Linked DNA regions of Homo sapiens: regions 1 and 3 are each linked to region 2. The links are contacts of gene promoters, found by promoter capture Hi-C in human tissues and cell types (Jung and others, 2019). All regions are on one chromosome and are shown on one strand. The core of a region is centred on a gene start or on the middle of the fragment in contact, and the rest is flanking DNA. Distances in the headings are between cores, read along the strand shown.

Evidence for each region. The method cuts DNA at HindIII sites, captures the fragments that hold promoters and counts their contacts. A contact is called where the count stands out against the background at its distance.
Region 1: a contact is called between a fragment that was not itself captured here and the fragment with the promoter of OLFM4 in region 2, in 6 of the 25 tissues and cell types used here (H1 embryonic stem cells, mesenchymal stem cells, mesendoderm cells and 3 more).
Region 3: a fragment that was not itself captured here is called in contact with the fragment with the promoter of OLFM4 in region 2 in 5 of the 25 tissues and cell types used here (bladder, dorsolateral prefrontal cortex, heart right ventricle and 2 more).

What each region holds. Positions count from the first base shown.
Region 1 is chr13:52,950,603-52,953,792 of GRCh38, reverse strand. No RefSeq gene overlaps it. Among named protein-coding and RNA genes, the nearest start is that of OLFM4, 77 kb to the left of the region's middle. The HindIII fragment of the contact is 4,414 bases long and covers 1-3,190 here.
Region 2 is chr13:53,027,484-53,030,816 of GRCh38, reverse strand. It overlaps OLFM4 (olfactomedin 4), which reads right to left and starts at 2,004. Exons shown (of 5, transcript NM_006418.5): 1 at 1,777-2,004. The coding sequence starts at 1,980. The HindIII fragment of the contact is 5,150 bases long and covers 1-3,333 here.
Region 3 is chr13:53,127,762-53,130,997 of GRCh38, reverse strand. No RefSeq gene overlaps it. Among named protein-coding and RNA genes, the nearest start is that of LINC01065, 23 kb to the left of the region's middle. The HindIII fragment of the contact is 6,212 bases long and covers 1-3,236 here.

The DNA of each region.
Region 1 (3,190 bases), core at 410-2,909, 77 kb after region 2:
GACAAAACAGACAGAGAGCTTAAGTGATTCTCCTTAGAGTCACACAGATGATTAAGAGTAATGCCAGGATTTGAACCCATGCAGTCTGCTCCAGAGCCCACACTCTGGATCAATATTTTGCTCATCCTGAAAGCTATTAATCAGACCATGAGCTATTAATCAGACCATCTCCCCAAAGAATCTGTGGCTTTTTCCAGAATGGAGAACTAGGGCCCAGGATGGGGTGAAGAGAGCAGAGAGGAGAGCCCACAGACATATGGGAAACCACGTCCTGGATATGTGGAAGGCATAGTCCTGGAGCCTTCTTAGAATTTCTTCTCTCTGTTACAGAGGTAGCTAATCAGACATGAGCAGAGCAGGACAGGGCTTCCCCCCACTCCCACTCCAACATTCCCCCAGGAATGTCAGGCAACCATCAGGTGATGTTCAGGAGGTTGTTAAGCTGTCTCTAAAATAATCATTGGTCACAGACAGTGCCAGGGAAAAGCAGTCTCCCAATACACAGGAACACCTGAAACTAGTGATCAACAGCTTCCTGATAGGACCTCAGGAGCTGGGTGAGTGGGCTCAAACATGCACATTAAGAAGCGAAGTGGGGGCATTTAACTGGTATATGACCTCCTAGGGACATTTGGCTGGTAAGGGAAGAATGCCTCAAGTGAGCATGTGCACAACTCCAGTAAACACACTGTGCATGCTCCCCTCCCAAGCACTAGCAGGCCACTATGCATGTGGACAGTCCACCCCAAGGGAAGAATCCGGGGAGGAGGGATGCAATCCTGGAAGCAGGCCAACATATGAAACCCCAAGTCAAAGAGCAAACTATGCACTTGATCTCCCAAGTCACTCACTTGGCCTTCTTCCAAGTGTACTTTCCTTCCTTTCATTCCTGCTCTAAAGCTTTTTAATAAACTTTCACTCCTGCTCTAAAACTTGCCTTAGTCTCTCCTTCTGCCTTATGCCTCTCAGTCGAATTCTTTCTTCTGACAAGGAAGAACTGAGGTTGCTGCAGACCCATATGGATTCGCTGCTGCTGCTAACATCACCTACCAGCCCCTCTCCACGTAAGCTCTTATTTCTTACCTTTTTTTTTCCCCTACTACCTGGAATTGGGCCCGACTTCATAGGTTAAGGACACAGTCCTCTACAAGACTGTCCTTTTATCAGATACTAGCTGCAAGTTCAGGGTACCCCCACTTCTGACCAGCTGGCTACAAATTCAAGGCCTCTCACTCACCACTCAGGTTCAAAAATTTGCTAGCATGACCCACAGTATTCAGGAAAGCACTTCACTTATTTATTTATTTTTTTAAGAGACAGAGTCTCACTCTGCTGCCCAGACTGGAGTGCAATGGTGAGATCTTGGCTCACTGCAACCTCCGTCTCCCCGGTTCAAGCAGTTCTCATGCCTCAGCCTCCCAGGTGGCTGGGATTACAGGTGTATGCCAACACGCCCAGTTAATATTTGTATTTTCAGTAGGGATGGGGTTTCACCATGTTGGCCAGGCTGGTCTCAAACTTCTGGCCTTAAGTTATCTCCCTGCTTCAGCCTCCCAAAGTGCTGGCATTTCAGGTGTGAGCCACCAAGCCCAGCCTTCACTTATGATTATAGTTTTATTATAGCAAAAAGACACAAATCAGAACCAGCCAAAGGCAGAGAAACATGAGGTCTGGGAGGGTCTCAAACCCAAAGCTTTGTCCTCCTAGAACATCTATGTGTGTCAATTTGTGTTCACACTGCCAAACAGGGAAGCTCACCCAAGCTTTGGTGACCAGACTTTTTTGGGGGTTTAATTACATAGGCATGATTAACTGAATCATAGCCATATGACTGAACTCATTTTTTCCCCCTCATCCCTTCCCAGAAGTTGAGCTAATACTGCTGACCCAAAACTCCAACTTTCTAATCACATGTTTGGTCTTTCTGGCATGGTCAGCCCACATCCTGGGTTATCTCCTTAGCATAAACTCTCTAGAGGCCCACCTTGAGTCACTTCATTACCATAAACTATCAGGTGTGGTCAAGGGAGCCTACTGTGAATAACAAAGACACTCTCTTAAAAAAAAATGAGAAATTCCAAAAGTTTAGAGACTACCTTCCTGGAACCAAAGATAGAGGTCAGCCATATTTTTTATGACACACCTATAATGCAGAATTTAGGGCAATAGACACCTGTCTACAAATCGTGTGATCACGTGGTGATAACAGAGCCAAAATGAGATGCCAGTGCTGATTCAATTTAGTGACTACTGTAGGGTCGATCTAATTGTTTAGGCCATCTTATCTAAATTAGAGGGATCATATAGCAATCCAATCAGTTTCTCAGGTATTAACTATCAGACAAGTGGGAAAATGATTCTAATCTGCTTTGATCCAGTTGTTTACGGTGTACACACTTTGCTAAGGTGTGAATTCCTGAGAGATTCTAACAATTAACCTTTGTCAGTGGAATCTCCCCAACTTCTCTAGAGAAGGAATCAGAGAATGAAGAAACCAGAAGGAATATCTGAAGTGAAGGAGTCCCATGCCCGCATTTTACAGTTAGGGAAACCATGAAAAAATTGCTTAGAGAGTCCAGCCAGCAGACAAACGATGTGATCCTGGGCAGCTCCCCGCCATCTGAGATTTATTCCTCAAAGTTTCCCCTACGGCTCCCATACTTAAAAAAGCCAATACACCTTGGAGATTGAACATATTAAGAAAGTTATGCCACCTCTTTGAGCCTCAGCTTCCTAATCTCTAAAGTGAGGGCAATGAGTGGGGGCTCAATACACTCAGAAGTATCCACCTCAAGGCTCACAGGTAACATAACTGATTTAAGCGGGTAGTTGTGAAATGATAAGGAATCATGGGGCTGCGGAGAAATAGAAAAAACATAACCCAAGGGAAGGCCTCCACATTTGAACTTAAAAATAAATCAAAATCCTTGGCGCAGGGTTTGTCATCTCTGGCCAGGATGGCCTGCCCCATCCGTCCCGGCTCTATGATTCTATGACTGTTTCCCTTAGCACACTGTTTGTCAGATGGACTTTCTCTTCAAGTCAGTCATGCTGAGGAAATCAAGGAAGTGGAATGACTTGCGAGGAAAAAAGAAGGGAAAGTTTTAAACTGGGGAATAGACAGTTTTGGCTAGGCAACTGCTAGAACATGAGTTGCCAAACAGGAAAAGGAGGGGCATGGAGAACAGAG
Region 2 (3,333 bases), core at 755-3,254:
TAAAAAATAAGCAATTTTCATCTATACTCCTTGGAAATATAGAAACCTATATGTACAGACATGGTGAAGAGAATGGACAGACTAATTTTGAGCTATATAACTTGCTAGCTTAGTGACTTAAAACTAATGACTTCACCTTGATAAGCCTTAGTTTTCACATCTCTAAAATGGGACCATTAATTGTACCTACCTCTTAGGGTTAAATAAGATAATACAGGCCAGGTGCGGTGGCTCATGCCTGTAATCCCAGCACTTTGGGAGGCTGAGGCAGGCAGATCATGAGGTCAGGAGTTCGAGACCAGCCTGACCAACATGGTGAAACTCCATCTCTACTAAAAATACAAAAATTAGCCAGGCGTGGTGGCGGGTGCCTGTAATCCCAGCTACTCAGGAGGCTGAGGTGGGACAATCGCTTGAACCTGGTAGGCGGAGGTTGCAGTGAGCCGAGATCGTGCCACTGCACTCCAGCCTGGGTGACAGAATGAGACTCTGTCTCAAAAAACAAACAAACAACAACAACAACAAAAAGATATATATTATGTACTTAACCTAGTCCTGGCATTTATTAGACACACAGTAAATGTTATTGCTGCTGTTTCTATCTAGGCCCTATCCAAATCATTTGTTAATTATCACATTTTTATTATCTGTAATTTCTGATGGTCAAAATAAAACAAATAAAAGTCTTTTCCTCCCCCTTCTCCCATTTGCCCTTCCATTCAAGCATGATAATGTAAGCAGCTACCTGACCTGTGAGGAAAGATCCTAGAGGCTTAGAGAGAGAAGCTTTGGCCCAGATAAGACTCCCCCACCCCAAGTTATACCTTAGCAAAAATAGCCTAGGAGGTTTGCAGAGTGGGGTTCCCGCAGAAAGGCCCAGAGTGAAATGAATAACTGCTTCTTACCTCCTAACCTCTCATGCCCTCCAGCCCATTCTCCTTTCTTTAAAGGAGATCCAAAGAGGACTCATCCCCCACGGAACTGGCTTACTATGCCTTCAATGCACTTAGCCTAGCTGTACCAGCCTCGTTGTAATGCATGACTTTTGGTTTTGTTTGTTTGTTGCTACTGTTGTTTGGAGCTGGAAATGGTCCTGAAGATTCCCTGTAAAGAAGACTGCAAAGAGTGAACACTCCCCTAGGCGAATGTCCACTGGTAATAACACTTTGCTAAAGACCAGTAACTCCCCCCTTATTTCTGACACCCACCTCCTTTATAAACCAGGCCAAGAGAAATGGTCAGGGCTTCAACTAGGGCACTGCGGCTCTCACTCCCTCGAGGGCTACTGTTCACCATTCCGGGATCCTGCCAGGCAGCAAAACAACTGGACAAACTTCCCAGAGCTGCAACTCACAGAGTCTTTCCCTAACAGTTCCCATCTTGGACTATATATTAGAATCACCTGGGGAGAGGTTTTTTAAAATATTTGATTTGTATACATCTATGTAGGATTTTTTTAAGTACAGAACCCAGGCATCTGTACTTTTAGAGTCCCCCCGGCCACCCATTCTAATGTGCAGCCAGATTTGAGAATTCCTCTAAAGCATAGATATTCCCAAAAGTCCCAGCTGGAGAACTGCGATATCGTCTCTCTTGCTAACAATTTAATTATTTTACTGAGGCTTTAATTCATTTCCGGGGCACCTATAGTTAACAAAATGAGTCGTAAATCTTTTAGAGTGCCCAGGTCTAGCCATCCATGAAATTGTATTCAGGTACCCAAAAGCAAATGGAAGGGAATGAATGCAGCTCATTCAGATTCTGGGGCCTCCTCACCTGGGACACAGAACCTCCGCTGCCTAAGCTGCGGCTGGAGCTGGAGCCCGACCTGGAGCTGGAGCTGAAGCTGGAGCTGGAGTCAACACCTGGGAAAGAGCTGAAGCCGGGGCTGGGAATTGGAGGTCCCACATCCCCCAAATCCCCTGCAGCTTGGCCAAGGAAGAACAGAAGGGCTAGGAGAAATGAGAGGCCGGGCCTCATCTTGTCCTCTTAGCTGGAGCCGCTGGCTCTGCAGAGAGCCCAGGGGCTTCTTATAGTGCCCAGTGGTGATTTCCCCATGGCCAGCATGTAGGAAAAGAGGGAGTGGCCAGGGAACGTGTGAACTGCCCCAGGAGGTTCAGGACACCCAGGAATCTGAGTCATGGCCCACACCTTGTCAGTGAGGCCCACTCTGTGAGCTGCCCTTGGATCCAGATATCCCCTGCCAAACATTAACTCAAATGTGCTTTGTAAAGCCCAATATTTGGTTTCCCACTTGGTACTTCCTTGAAAGAGATGAGACCAAAGTAGTCTTTGTGGATGACACAGAGTTTGGAGGCTCCATGGAGGAAAAGCAACCCTCAGTCCTTTGCCTCACAGCACTTCTAGTGCTCTCCCCCATTTTACTGAATACTACTTTTCACAGACAGTTAGGGAACTTGCCTTAGGGACTGTGGCTCTCCTCCAGGAGCGACTGAGCTTCCCTCTTCAGTTCCTATTGCCCAAGTTGTCGTTGACCTGTTCCTTACAGTGACTGTTTCTAGACAAAGTTGTCTAACAACCCCACTCTGAAGGAAAGACCAGCAACGTTTTGTTCCCTGGCCAACCAGGTAGGACTCTGCCCTATCAAGTACTCACCACTGTATGCTTCATATAGGGAAGAGAAAACACCCAAATAAACAAAGGGATCCCGATGACCCAGTGCCCGCTCTCCCAGGCCAGGGCACTGCCTCAAACCCAGTCAAGGAGGACCCCAGGAGCAGTTTCTCTCTCCAGAAAACTTTGACCTCTATTGCCCCTGAGCTTCTTGTGAGCCAGCCAGGCATTCAAGATCTCAAGCTTATTCTTCATAAAACTGAGAAATAAGATGCATTTTCTCTTGCTCAGCAGCTCTGACCCTGGGCTCCAGGATCCATTTGCCCTGCTCAACATTTCACACACCTTTGTGACCTCTGCCTTCTTCCCTGGAGAAAGAAAAAGGTGTTAGTCTCGGTATTAAGACCCAGCTCTGGGCCGGGGATGCTGGCTCGCACCTGTAATCCCAGCACTTTGGGAGGCCAAGGTGGGAGGATGGCTTGAGCTCAAGAGTTGGAGACCATCCTGGGCAATGTGGTGAGACCCTGTCTCTACAAAAAATGAAAAAAATAGCCAAGTGTGGCGGTATGCACCTGTGGTCCCAGCTACTTGGGAAGCTGAGGTGGGAGGATCACCTGAGCCTGGGAGGTTGCGGCTGTAGTGAGCCATGTTCACACCACTGCACTGCAGCATGGGTGACAGAGTAAGGCTGTCTCAAAAGAACAAAAACAAACAAAAAAGCTGTGTCACAATGAGTCGGTGGCCTTGAGCATGTCACTT
Region 3 (3,236 bases), core at 518-3,017, 100 kb before region 2:
AGTTTTCCCAGTTTTTCTTAATATTTAATAAATACTGCCTACACTTGGTGCATGAAGTTAAAGAGTATAATGACACCAATCTTTTAATATTCTTTTATACCTTATTTTTTAAACTTTAGAAAATATTTTGGGAATTAATGTTTCTTGTACTTAAAATGAATAATTTGCTTTATTTCACTTTTTAGGATTTTTTAAATTAAGTACAGTTAATTTTTTTATTTTAAATTGTGTTACAGAATATTCCAAATTCAGTTTTTCTGTATTTTTTTTCCTGTCTTTATTTCTATAGAGAGAGATACATAGGATGATATTGCCCTTTGTTAATGATAGTTATTTTTGTATAGTGGGATACGGAGTGACTTTTTTGCTTTCTTCTTTGTACCTTTCTTTGCTGCTTGACTTCTTTATAATGAGCTATATTGTTTTCATAAGTTCAGTAGAGTTATTCTTTATGAAAATATATATAGTAATTGAAAGAAGCTTAATATTTGGCATCTCTAATTTTTAAAAAGTAGTAAACACATATTATGCACCTCTTATGTCTTCTTTTTCCTTAAACCTTTCTACCTACTGACTTTCTTTCTTTTCTTAAAGACAGAGCCTCACTCTGTCACCCAGGCTGGAGTGCTAGAGTGCAGTGGCATGATCATAGCTCCCTGAAGCCTTGAGCTCCTGGTCCCAAGAGATCCTCTTGCCTCAGGTAGATCCTCTTGCCTCCCAAGTAGCTGAGACTACAAGTGTGTGCCACCATACCTGGCTAATTTTTTTTTAAGAGATGGGGTCTCGCTATGTTGCCCAGGCTGGTCTTAAACTCCTGGCCTCAGGCAATCTTCCTGCCTCAGCCTCCCAAAGTGCTGGGATTACAGGCATAAGCCACCAAACCTGGTGCTACCTACTGAATTCCAAGCTCTGTGATCCTAGAGGGTAAACATTAAGCTATGTTAAAACTGTAAGGGGCCCTCAGAAAAGCCACCTACCTTCTCACATTCCTTACCCCTCAGGGGATACTTCACATAATCAATTCTCAGGAAGGCTGCATAAGCCCCAGACAATTCTTTAGCTTTTACCTTCTAGAAAAAGGCTTTTTACATAATGTTAAAAGGTCGTTAATACTGTCCCCACACTAAACAACATCATTCATAATGCAAACAATTGTAGTAAATGGGAAGTTATCCTGTTATGCATATATAGCTTCTTTGGATGTTTGAAAAGTCTTGAGACCCCCAAAACCCCCTAAAAACAAAGATGCCAAGAAGGAAGATGGCAATTATTTTCTGTTTAATTTTTACCTACTCCAAAGTTCTCTGAACCAATCTGACCCTCTACATCAATCCCAAAACGACTATATGACTGTGACCCACACTCATTATTAGTACACTGAACCTATGTGCCCTGACAACTAATGCCATGTATAGACCATTGAAAGGCAAGGTGTGGAGAACCCAGACAAGCTAGAAGTGTTCAGCAGGTAATTCCTGAATAAATATGTCTAAAAATAGACAGCAAAAAGCCCAAATCTGTGAAATCAAAACTAGATGAACACCTGCCCAGAAAGATTCCAGAAGCTAGAACCAATGAAAAGGCAAGTCAGAATAGATGAACTAGTCAATCCAAGAGACCAAAGCAAGAAACTAAATCTAGCAGAGCTGAGACAGGATCAGCACCGAAACAGGTCTCCAGCATCCAGAAATGAGTTAAAGTCAGAGGAACCACGGTGGAAACAAGTAAGTCAAGGATGGGAGGGTGCACAGGCCCAGAGAGAGTTCTTCAGATGACTAACTACTGCTTTAGGAGTCTTCAACTGGTCCAGTCCAATCACACCTCCTTGATAAATGTTCCACAATTTATACAACTGACTTAGGAGCCCCTATAGCATGACTACAGTACCCTGGGGGTAACTTTATCAAAGCACCTGCCACAGCTTCACCTACCACAGTGAAATTGATTTACTTACCTCTCTCCGCTAAGAAACTGCAAGTCCCCTAAGAAGAGATATCCTATCTTATTTGACAGTGAATCTTCAGCATCTAAGATGGTGCTTAATATAAAGTTCAAAAAAAGTCCAGGTGAATGAATGAATGAATGAGTTTCTGCATCTAAAATTTAAATGCAAGAAACATGGCTACTAACAAATAAGAGTGAATGTCCTATAACAAAACTCATGCAACATTACTCCTTTTCTCCTGTCACCTAAAGTCTCAACTTTGCAACACATCATGCCATCTAATTAAGTGTTTTCAACCTTCTTTAACAGAAATCTCTATTCAAAATGATGAAACAATGAGGAAACGTTTTATTTCACATAACAAACTGTCCTAAGGGAAAGTGACTCCAAGGCCCCAGCAGCTTTTCATCTTTCTGCTCTATCACTCTCAGCAAGTCAGCTTGTCTTCAAGCCAGCCATCCTCATGGTCACAAGATGGCTGCCTCAGATGCAAACATGACAACTTCTAGCAGGAGAGTAGAGCATCTTTTCCTACAGGACTCTCAACACACACACATCTCTTTGCATCTCTTTTGCCTCTGCACAAATCTTAAAACAAGCCACTGACAAGAGAAATTAGATCACTGTGACTGGCTTAAAGAAGTCTACAACTGTGTGGGGGTGGATCACGTGAACAGAATTAACAAAGTGGGAAAAAGTGTTGGGTAGGTGGCCAACGGCTATTTCTACAATTTCATACAATGCCATTCACAACCTCTCTCTCATGCCCCTTGCCTCCATCCTCCTCTCCTACCATTCTTTCTATCTCAAACTCTGTATTCAGACCATACCTGTTGTTCCCTAAATATACCAGAAAGTTTCTGCTTGACCAGATCATTTTTTGTCTCTGTGCTTTTGTTCTGTGTTCTTAGCTTTGCCAGAAGTGCTCTTCCTCTCTGTCCAGTGGGCAAGCACCAATTCATTTTCAAACTCTCCACTGAAGCATCAATTTTCTGTAATGCCTTTCTTGACCTCAGGTAATTAACTTCCTTATTAATGTTCATTCCCCACACCTTGTCTACCACTTCTATTACAGCATCCCTCATACTGAAAAGTGCTCCTTTGTTTACATTTTCATCTTTCCCATTAGACTCAGAGCCCCTAGTGAGCAGGACTATGCTTTGTCCATCTTCGTATCCCCAGCCTCTAATTCAGTGCCATGTGTTTATAGAAATGTCATGTAGGCTTGATACATTGAGTGAAACTGAATGAGCTGAACTGAATCTGGCTGTGTGTAATATTTCCAACAGTT